Linked DNA regions of Homo sapiens: all the other regions are linked to region 2. The links are contacts of gene promoters, found by promoter capture Hi-C in blood cells and fetal thymus (Javierre and others, 2016). All regions are on one chromosome and are shown on one strand. The core of a region is centred on a gene start or on the middle of the fragment in contact, and the rest is flanking DNA. Distances in the headings are between cores, read along the strand shown.

Region 1 (3,463 bases), core at 572-3,071, 5.6 Mb before region 2:
GGTGAGGCCTAGACAACTTGATAAGCACAGGATGAGGGGCAAGACCCAGAATATAGCACCAGAAATATAAAACCAGAGCAGGGTAGAGCCCAGGACATATTAACGTAACATAAAGTGTGACTCAGAATTTGAGGGAAAATTCAGGACATAGGACCCAGACACAGGACATAGAATAAAAGTCACAAGGCTAGGTGCAGTGGTGGCTCACGCCTGTAATCCCAACACTTTGGGAGGCTGAGACGGGTGGATCATGAGGTCAGGATATCGAGACCATCCTGGCCAACATGGTGAAACCCCATATCTACTAAAAATACAAACATTAGCTGGGCATGGTGGCATGTGCCTGTAGTTTCAGCTACTCAGGAGGCTGAGGCAGGAGAATGACTTGAACCTGGGAGGCGGAGGTTGCAGTGAGCCAAGATCGTGCCACTGCACTCCAGCCTGGATGACAGAGTGAGACTCCATCTCAAAAAATAAAAAATAAAAGTCACAAAATAGAACAGGGTCCAATATGTGGACCAGAACCCCAAAGTGGGACAAGAGACCCTAGAACAGAGGACTTAATGGCCAAGGTCTAGAACATGATAGGTTAGGACCAAGAATATGAAAAACATGTAGCTACAAACAAGAGCTTAGAACAAGGGATAAAACTCAAAATACTGACAGTTAAGAACCTGGGACAGAGCCAAGAACGTAACAGAACCCAAAACATGTGACAGAATCCAGAACCTGGGCTGGAAAGCAGACCATGGGTCCAGCTGCATTTTTGAACACCATGGAACCCCAAGCCTTTCATTTTGCCTGGGCCACCCGTTACCTCCGGTCCAGTGAACTCTCCAGGCTGGAGAAGGATCTCCCTTTGGGGGGCCGCAGTCCCCAGATCCCCTCCGTTCCCTGTAGAGTGGGAGTTAGTCAGTTTAACAGCAGACCTAGGTCCACACATGGGCTCAGACCTCCTCCTCACACTCTACCTACCGTGCCTGGGTCCTCTGCATCTCCTAGTTCCCAGGTTGGGCGCTGCCACTGGGTGCTACCGCTGGGTACATGCCAGTAGTAAGTACCTGCAGCATCGTGGATCTTCCTCCAGCCAGGAGGCAGGCCAGCCTCCACCTCCAGACTGTGGTCCCCCCACAAGTCATCTACAGGAACACCGGATTAGAGAGGAGGGAGCATATGATTTGTGAGTTCAGAATAACATGCTGTCATAATCCCCTCTCCATCCCCAAAATGGGTCAGTTCTTAGGCTGAAGATCCAGGCTCCTCAATCTTGAAGACATCACATGTAAAGACCGGGTTCATTCGCCCCCTGGTCCCTACACAGAGAGGTATCCCCCACCGTCTTTGAGCCCCAGAGTAGCCTTTCGGATTCCCTCGTCCTCCCTCAGCTCCTGGTCTTCCCACCGGGCCCCTCCGTGCACACCATCGCAGTTGACCAGAATGATGGCCAGCATGTAATCCTTGCCCAGCATAACCCCGGCTGCTCCCCGCCAGCCTCTGCCGGCCCGCACTCTCAGCCCAGCGCGACCTCTGGAGCTACTGCGCCTGCAAGCCCAGCCTCTCTGCGCCGCAGGCTGCGGGGCCAGCTGGCGCCGCACAAATACGGGGCGGGACACGGGGCGGGACACGGGCCGGTCCCGGGGGAGGGCCTGAGCCGCACAGCCCGCCCAGGGGTGGTGCGTGTAAACGGGCGTCTGGATCCCCGAATGGTTGCGTGTTTCCGTGTGTGGGTCCGGGGGAGGCCCACGAACGCCAGCGAAACCGCTGACACCACCGCCCAACTATGAACTCATCAGGCGCCTGAAGACCGACACGCCGAACATGCGCCGCGCGCACTCGCGCACGAGTGAGATCATCGCGCCCCGGTCGTGAGTGCGCTCACACGCAGCCTGAGACTCGACGGGAGGGGGTCACGTGGAAGTATCTGAGAGAGGCGTACTTGGCCACTAGGAAAGCACCTCCCCCTTTCCAAAAATGCTCCGGAAGTGCCTTCGCCCTCCGTAAAGATGGCCGGGGCAGTCGGCACGAGGGAGGCGGGGATGCGCCTGCGCAACAAGTTCGGCGGGGAAGATGGCGGATGACAAGGTGAGTGGCCGTGGGGGTGATCTGCAGCCGGGCGTGGTCTTCACTCTCCTTGACCTTTTTAGTTCCGGGGAGAAGCGACTCTGGAGCGGCTCAGGAGTGAGGATGTCCCTTGTTTCTTCTGCGGCTCCTGTCAACTGCCTCAACAGTGTGGAGTGGTGTGGGGAGAGCATTCGGCGAGGCGGGAGGAGCCGTGGATCCCCCAGATGTCCCCTCCTGGGAACCATCACGAACCCGTTACTAGCACAGACTCAAAAACATTCACCCTTAAACACTCCTCACTTTACCCCATTCCCTAGCTCCCGAAATTTTCTTCCCAGTGACACGATGTTTCCAATCACACGGACACTCACACCACCCTCATTCAAACACTCCTTTGCATACATTCTGAATTTCATACTTATATGCGATCAAAATCACTCAGTCCATTTACTTACACACTTGCCGACAGTCTTTTTTGTCATTCTCAGTCACATCCAGTCACTCACATTCAGTTTGGGATGTCCTTGGGAAGAAAGAGGTAAAGCCCATCCAGGAACCAAGACAATAAAATTGTCCAGGAAACTGCCTCGGTCCATTACTCACCATTGGTCTAGAAGCTCAGCATTACCCACACATTTACTAAATGTCAGGCACTAGAACATAGTAGCCAAGACAGACTGGTCACGACTTTCAAGGAGCTCATAATGGAGTCAGTAGTGGTTTCCTGATGGACCTAATTAAAGGTCCCTAGCTGTCCCTCCTGCCTTTCCTACATACTGCTTGCTATATAAAATTCTTGTCAAGGTTGATGTAAGTTACTGGTTCAGATCCCATCTGTCAGTCCCTTCCTGGCCCTCATTTGAATTCTGTGCTTTTCAATGCTTGTCTTTCTTTGCCACTGCCATCTCAGGAAGCTTTTATAGGAAAAGGTCTTTCTGGCTCACCCCATCCCCTCCCAATTCCCAGCTTCTGATGGAATTGAGCAAGGGGTGGGGCTTAGTCAGACTGCTGGAGCCAGCCTCTCGCTTGTCCTAGGATTCTCTGCCTAAGCTTAAGGACCTGGCATTTCTCAAGAACCAGCTGGAAAGCCTGCAGCGGCGTGTAGAAGACGAAGTCAACAGTGGAGTGGGCCAGGTAAGGACTGTCCCACCCCACCCCTGCCTTAGGCTTTATTGCCCAACATGCTCTTGAGAGTGTTAAATGGATGGTAGAGATTTCTTCAGCAAGTGATTATTGAGGGCCTATTCTCAGTCACCCTAAGGACAATTTTTCTGAATGGCACATGAACTAATATCTTAAGTAGTGGTTAAGTAGGTGAAGAGGGGAGGAAAGAACATTCCAGGCAGAACAGCATATGTAAAGGCCTTGTGGTAGGAAGTAGCATTATAAACATGAGGGGTGA
Region 2 (3,508 bases), core at 961-3,460:
GGGAGAATCACTTGAACTTGGGAGGCACCACTGCACTCCAGCCTGGGAAAGAATGAGACTCCATTTCAAAAAAAAAATAAAAATAAAAATAAAAAATATGATCATGTCACCCATTGTAAAGAAGACTATGAAAGCAAGTCTTTTACAAATTACTTAGAACTATGTGTTTCTTTTCATTGTACTGAGTATGCCAAATGCAAGAAAGCTTTTATTTGAGTTTTCTGTTTCTCAGAAAAACTTGTTTCTCAAAACCTCAAAGATCAAGTATAATAAAATCTGATATTGGCCCAAACACCAACTTGTTGTATAACCTTGAGCAAGTCATTTGATCAATCTGAGACTCAACCTCCTCACTGGTAACAAAAGGCTATATAACTAAATCAGAGTTCCTAAACTTTGGCACTACTTACACTTTGGGCCAAATAATTCTTTGTTTTCAGGGGTTGTCCTGTGCACTGCAGGATGTTTAGAAGCATCCCTGGCTTCTACCCGGGATCCCTGCTTTTCACTTACACTGTTGCCCCTGCCTGGAAATCTCTTTCTTCCTATAGTTGCATAGGTTGCTCTCTTACCTCGTTTTTGCCACCTTTTTGGCAAAGCCTTGCTTGATCATCCTTTTAAAAATTGCAACAGGCCAGGCGCCATGGCTCACGCCTGTAATCCCAGCACTTTGGGAGGCCGAGGCGGGCAGATCACGAGGTCAGGAAATTGAGTCCATCCTGGCCAATGTGGTGAAACCCTGTCTCTACTAAAATACAAAAAATTTAACTGGGCATGGTGGCGCGCGCCTGTAGTCCCAGCTACTCGGGAAGTTGAGGCAGGGGAACCGCTTGAACCTGGGAGGAGGAGGTTGCAGTGAGCCGAGATCGCGCCGCTGCACTCCAGCCTGGCGACAGGGCAAGGCTCCGTCTCAAGAAAAAAACAAACAAACAAACAAAAAACAAAAAAAAATAAAACCAGGCGGGATGGCTCATGCCTGTAGTCCCAGCACTTTCGGAGGCTGAGACAGAAGGATCGCTTGACCCCAGGAGTTCGAAACCCTGTCTCTACTAAAAATACAAAAAATTAGCAGGGTGTAATGGAGCACGCTTGCAGTACCAGCTGTGGGGAGGCTGAGGTGTGAGGATCGCTTGAGCCCTAAGGTCCAGGCTGCAGTGAGCCATGATCACGCCACTGCATTCCAGTCTGGGTCACAGAGTGAGAACATCTCCCAAATTTAAAAAAATTTTTAAAAATTGCAACTGTACTACCCCACCGTACACTCCCTAGCACCCCTTCCTGCTCTATTTTTTCCCCACAGCATTTATCAGCACCTGACACAATATTTTACAATGTATTTTACCCACACACATAAACACTATGAAAAGAGAGATTTTTGTCTGTTTTACGGAGAGGCGCTCAATTTTTTCTTTTTTTTTTTTTTTTTTTTTTTTTTTTTTTGCTGTAAGTAGGAATCAACTTACATACTCCTCTCTCCACCTCGGCTTTATTTGTTTGTTTATTTATTTATTTTATTTTTAAGACGGAGTCTCACTCTGTCGCCCAGGCTGGAGTGCAGTGGCGCGATCCTGGCTCACAGCAGCCTCCCTCTCCCGGGTTCAAGCAATTCTCCTGCCTCAGCCTCCCGAGTAGCTGGGTTAACAGGCGCGCACCACTACGCCCGGCTAATTTATGTATTTTTGGTAGAAACGGGGTCTCACCATGTTGGCCAGGGTGGTCTCGAACTCCTGACCTCAAATGATCCACCCGCCTCGGCCTCCCAAAGTGCTGGGATTACAGCCGTGGGCCACCGTGCCCGGCTCTCCACCTCGATTTTAGAAACTCCAGAGAAATAACAAATATGATATCCAAGTACTCCGTAAAGTTAACAGACATCAGTTCGTGGTTCATAAACTAGCAAGAAAAAGCAAAGTCTCTACGAAAGGCACGCCTTAAGCGTGGCTCTCTTTTAGAAAAGGACTTTCCCTTCAGGACAGCACATGGAGAGCCCCTAGAGACTGGCCAGTCCGGCTCCAGGGCCCCTGCGGATTCTTCTCGCTCAAACTCACCGCCATTGCACCGCCCAGCCGACTGTGCAAATCCACGACAATGACCCTGGCGACCTCCACAAAGGAGTGGTTACCTTTCCCCTCCCTCTCGGGGATGCCAGGCCTCCCACGAAACTAAAGCACACGCTTCACACCTGCTGAGGCAATCATCCGGCTCCTTACTAACTACAGCCAAGGCATCTCACAGCCCGCCGGGAATTGTAGTTCCCAGACCACCCGAGCAGACACCCAGCAGGCGCTAACTGACTACAATTCCCAGAGAAAAACGGGTTATCGGAAGTCTACCCGATAGGCCCACTCAGAGGGGAACCGGCAGTGACGTCACTGGCATGTTGAACTACAAAGTCCATGATGCAGTGCGGGATCGCAGAATGCCGCGAGTGCGCCCTGGTTAGGTTGGAGTCCCTTGGCCATCAACCTTTTCACCCGGTAGAGCTGGTTGCCTGTCGGGATGCCAGGATACGCAGTTAATTACTATACGGTGACTGAGGTGCTACTTATGGCTTGCCACTATGCACAGATATTTTTTACTGTCAGTGGCATTCAACAGCCCAGCATTTAGACATTGTATAACCGCGTATTGACAATCTCCTTTTTTTTTTTTGAGACGCAGTATCGCTCTGTCGCCCAGGCTGGAGTGCAGTGGCGCGATCTTGGCTCAGTGCAACCTCGGCCTGCCGGATTCAAGCAATTCTCCTGCCTCAGGCTCCCGAGGAGCTGGGACTATGGGCGCGCGCCACCACACCGACTAATTTTTTGTATTTTTGGTAGAGACTGGGTTTCACCTTGTTAGCCAGGATGATCCCGATTTCCTGACCTCGTGATCTGCCTCCCTCGGCCTCCCAAAGTGCTAGGATTACAGGCGTGAGCTACCGTACCTAGCCAACAATCTCCTTTTTTTTTTTTTTTTTTTTTTTTTTTTTTGAGAGGGAGTTTCGTTCTGTCTCCAGGCTGGAGTGCAGTGGCGCGGTTTCGGCTCACTGCAACCTCCGCCTCCCGGGTTCAAGCGATTCTTCTGCCCCAGCCTCCTTAGTAGCTGGGACTACAGGCGCGCGCCACCGCGCCCAGCTAATTTTTGTATTTTCAGTAGAAACGGGGTTTCACCATATTGGCCAGGATGGTCTCGATCTCCTGAACTCGTGATCCGCCCGCCCCAGCCTCCCAAAGTGATGGGATTACAGGCGTGAGCCACCGTGCCCGGCCAACAATCTCCATTTTTAAGCAAGAGACTGAAAGCCTACCTGGTCCCATTGCCTGACTCAGACTATTTAGACCACTACCAAACAGGGCCAGGGGCGGTGGCCATAATCCCATTATTTTGGGATGCCGAGGTGGGCGGATGACCTGAGGTCAGGAGTTTGAGACCAGCCTGGCCAACATGGTGAAACCCCGTCTCTACTAAAAATACGAAAATTAGCTGGGTATGGTGGCGTGCACCTGTAGTCCCGGCTACTCGGGAG
Region 3 (3,156 bases), core at 522-3,021, 5.5 Mb before region 2:
GCCCAAGTCCAAATAGAATTTTGGCTGATTCTGGATGGCCGCAATGGGTTGTTTCAGGGAAGCTTTCGGGGGCACTGTAGGCATTTATTATTAACTACGGTGAGCAATGTATTGCATGGGTCCAGCCTCAGCTGGGAGCCCATTCTCTCTCTTTTTTTTTTTTTTTTTTTGAGACGGAGTCTCGCTCTGTCACCCAGGCTGGAGTGTGGTGGCACGATCTCCACTCACTGCAACCTCCACCTCCTGGGTTCAAGCAATTCTCCTGCCTCAGCCTCCTGAGTAGCTGGGATTACAGGTGCCCGCCACCACACCCGGCTAATTTTTGTATGTTTAGTAGAGACGGGGTTTTACCATGTTGGCCAGGCTGGTCTTGAACTCCTGACCTCAGGTGATCCACCTGCTTCAGCCTCCCAAAGTGCTGGGATTACAGGCGTGAACCACCGCACCCAGCTGGGTACCCATTCTCTAGGCTCCCATAGGCTATCTAACATAATACCCAGCACAATACACTAAAGTTACTCGTGTCTATCTCCTCCTGTAGTCTACTGGCTTTTGGAAGGAGAAGCTTTTTTCCTTCTCCAATTATTAGTGCATGTCTAATGTCTACTGTGTCTCACAGATATCTACTCTGAGAACCAATCTGCTTAAGGTGGTCACTCTCCTCCACCTCCTCCCGTCATTCCCAGGGCACCATATAGTTAAAAGCTGTGATTAAAATCCTGTTATTCAGTATGTATAAACATTTATTGCATACCTACAATGTGTTAGGCAACATGATAGGAAAATTTCATTTTGCAATACATTGCCATGCCAGTCTTAGAGGGGTAAGTGCATTCTAGGAAGGGGAATAAATGTAAAGGCTCAATCCTGTTAAACTCTAGCTGCATCTAAAGTTGCAGCTAGAGTTTAACAATAGTGCAAAACAAAGTTTTGATTCCGTTTTCTAATCTCTACAGTGAGAAAAGAAGAACACGCTTCCTCCTAACTAATGAAGATTAAATGAGTTAGGCAGGGAAGCACTCAGCACAGGGCCCAGCTCTATGTGCAAAATTACTGAGATTCTCACACACTACCTGGACTGACACTGGCTACACGTTATTTGGAGAAACTATATTGACTAACTTCTCTCCTGTCTGAAGCCCATTCTTAACTACAAAAACGTCAGCTCCTGGTCCCTACGCAGGATTCGGTCAGCCTGCATACTTATGTTGCCCGGAATACAACGCATCATATAACCCTGCGAATATAAATTTCTTCATGGAAACAAGATCAACAGCAAGGCTAAAGTCCGAGTTCTAGTTTCTCCACGGGTTTCTGCACGACCTTGGGCGGTCCCTTCTCTTCTCAAACCCTTGTTCCCCTACCGGAGCCCCAGACCCCTGGCGTCCCGCACTCACCGTAGCGGGCCCAGAGCTTGGGCTGCACATCGGAGCATTCGCGGATTAGGATGGGTAGGTCGGGATTCGCCTTCTTCAGCTCCACGTAGCGTTTCTCAATGAAGTCCCTGCGGGGCCGGAGAGAGCGCCGCGCGTGCTGTGGGCGGGGGCTTCCCTCAACTTCAGGGAGGTCGAGGTCGTGACCCTGGCGTCCCGAAGCCCGCCCGCCTCACCACGCCGCGCCTCACCTGACGCCCTGGCTGCCGGGCGAGCGCTGACATAAGTGGATGCGAATCTCACGCAGGCCCAGCTTTGCCCCGACTCCTCGACTTGCTGCGGCCGCCGCCATCCTTGTTAATATCGAAGTCGCCAATTCCAGGTCTTCAGGCCAAGTGCTCCGGTCTGACCAACCGCGGACCCTAAAGCCTAGCCCATAGGCTGCATGAGGCAGGGGCGGGGTAAAGCTTGGCCAATGATATAAAAGTATTGTAGGACCGCTGCGAGGTCAATTTCTTTGCGCTCGGGGTTGGTCGGAGGGAAAAACAGGAAGCGGAAAGGCTGCGAACGCAAAGCAGTGTGGGTTGATTCTGAGGTGCACTGTGGGAAAGAGCTTGTCGCTGCGGTGTTGCTGTTGGAGACTCGATTGTTGGTGACAGCGAAAGAACGATAACAAAATGCCGGAGCGAGATAGTAAGGCTCAGGCCATCCGTTATTTCTTCCCCATGGCACTTGGGGCACTTGGCGCATTATTGTAGCTTCTGAGCTTAAGCCGGGTGTGTGTGTGTGTGTGTGTGTGTGTGTGTGTGTGTGTATGTATGTATGTGTGACGCTTGAGCCCGGAGAAGCCACAGGGTCCTAAGTGAGGCCGACAGCTCCAAACTCCGTCCCCAGTCCTCACTCCTACTCCAAGTGATGATGGGCGGCTTTTGTGCGTGGATCGCTTTCCCCCAGTCCTGTCCCCATACTTAATCCTGGGTTGCGCGTATTTATCTTTTACGTAGTATTTTAGACGTGATCTTCCGGAAGTCTTCTCTGATCCTCCAGCGCAGGATTAGGGTCCTCTGCTTTGTGCTCCCACAGCTTCTTGTAGTTTCCTATTTCAGCACTTATTACATTGTGTTGACACTGTCGCTGTTCTAACTTTTGTTCTGTATTGTTCACTACTATATCTCAAATTTTTGCATAGGATCTGACACGTAAGAGACTGATTAAATTAACGTCAATTTTTTTTGTCAGGTGAGCCGTTCTCCAACCCTTTGGCCCCCGATGGCCACGATGTGGATGATCCTCACTCCTTCCACCAGTGAGTATTTTGTGCTAGGACCATGGAAATGAGTTGGGCAATGAATAGAAAAGTGGTGGTGATGGTGAAAGAATTCTGAATGTCTTGTCATCAAGGATGGTAAAAAATTATACCCGCTGGCCCTTTATCTCTGTGAGCCTTAACTGGATCAGGCCAAGTGCATAAGGGTATTAGAAGGGAAATTCCTGCAGGAAAGGTGTTAAGTTTTTTTTTTTTTTTATACGTGTTGTGTAATTACACATTATATAGGAATTACTTCTTCCAATAGCAAATTAAAACATAGGAAATAAGGGTAAAATCATCTTTTTATTTTTTTTGAGACTGAGTTTCGCTCTTGTTGCTCAGGCTGGAATGCAGTGGTGCGATCTCGGCTCACCACAACCTCCGCCTCCCGGGTTCAAGCAATTCTCCTGCCTCAGCCTTCCGAGTAGCTGGGATTACAGGCATGTTCCACTACGCCCGGCTAATTTTGTATTT

The links. The method cuts DNA at HindIII sites, captures the fragments that hold promoters and counts their contacts. A CHiCAGO score of 5 or more calls a contact.
Region 1: a contact is called between the fragment with the promoter of APBB3 here and the fragment with the promoter of LARS1 in region 2, in 1 of 17 cell types (naive CD8 T cells). The highest score is 10.1, in naive CD8 T cells.
Region 3: a contact is called between the fragment with the promoter of NDUFA2 here and the fragment with the promoter of LARS1 in region 2, in 1 of 17 cell types (naive CD8 T cells). The highest score is 6.5, in naive CD8 T cells.

What each region holds. Positions count from the first base shown.
Region 1 is chr5:140,562,777-140,566,239 of GRCh38, forward strand. APBB3 (amyloid beta precursor protein binding family B member 3) reads right to left here and starts at 1,822. Exons shown (of 13, transcript NM_133173.3): 1 at 1,421-1,822; 2 at 976-1,139; 3 at 818-894. The coding sequence starts at 1,469. It overlaps SLC35A4 (solute carrier family 35 member A4), which reads left to right and starts at 2,052. Exons shown (of 3, transcript NM_080670.4): 1 at 2,052-2,082; 2 at 3,097-3,195. It overlaps LOC131768270 (SLC35A4 upstream open reading frame protein), which reads left to right and starts at 2,052. Exons shown (of 3, transcript NM_001394034.2): 1 at 2,052-2,082; 2 at 3,097-3,195. The coding sequence starts at 2,068. MIR6831 (microRNA 6831) reads right to left here and starts at 975; the gene lies at 895-975. RefSeq lists enhancers at 980-1,039, 1,648-2,254, 2,010-2,129 and a silencer at 1,510-1,689. The HindIII fragment of the contact is 4,216 bases long and covers 1-2,973 here.
Region 2 is chr5:146,180,440-146,183,947 of GRCh38, forward strand. It overlaps LARS1 (leucyl-tRNA synthetase 1), which reads right to left and starts at 2,211. Exons shown (of 32, transcript NM_020117.11): 1 at 2,049-2,211. The coding sequence starts at 2,054. RefSeq lists enhancers at 1,735-1,894, 2,803-3,508. The HindIII fragment of the contact is 6,101 bases long and covers 204-3,508 here.
Region 3 is chr5:140,645,859-140,649,014 of GRCh38, forward strand. NDUFA2 (NADH:ubiquinone oxidoreductase subunit A2) reads right to left here and starts at 1,772. Exons shown (of 3, transcript NM_002488.5): 1 at 1,625-1,772; 2 at 1,398-1,504. The coding sequence starts at 1,725. It overlaps IK (IK cytokine), which reads left to right and starts at 1,971. Exons shown (of 20, transcript NM_006083.4): 1 at 1,971-2,066; 2 at 2,613-2,679. The coding sequence starts at 2,051. MIR3655 (microRNA 3655) reads left to right here and starts at 1,986; the gene lies at 1,986-2,068. It also overlaps a transcript of TMCO6 not described here. RefSeq lists enhancers at 1,350-1,769, 1,510-2,045. The HindIII fragment of the contact is 1,275 bases long and covers 564-1,838 here.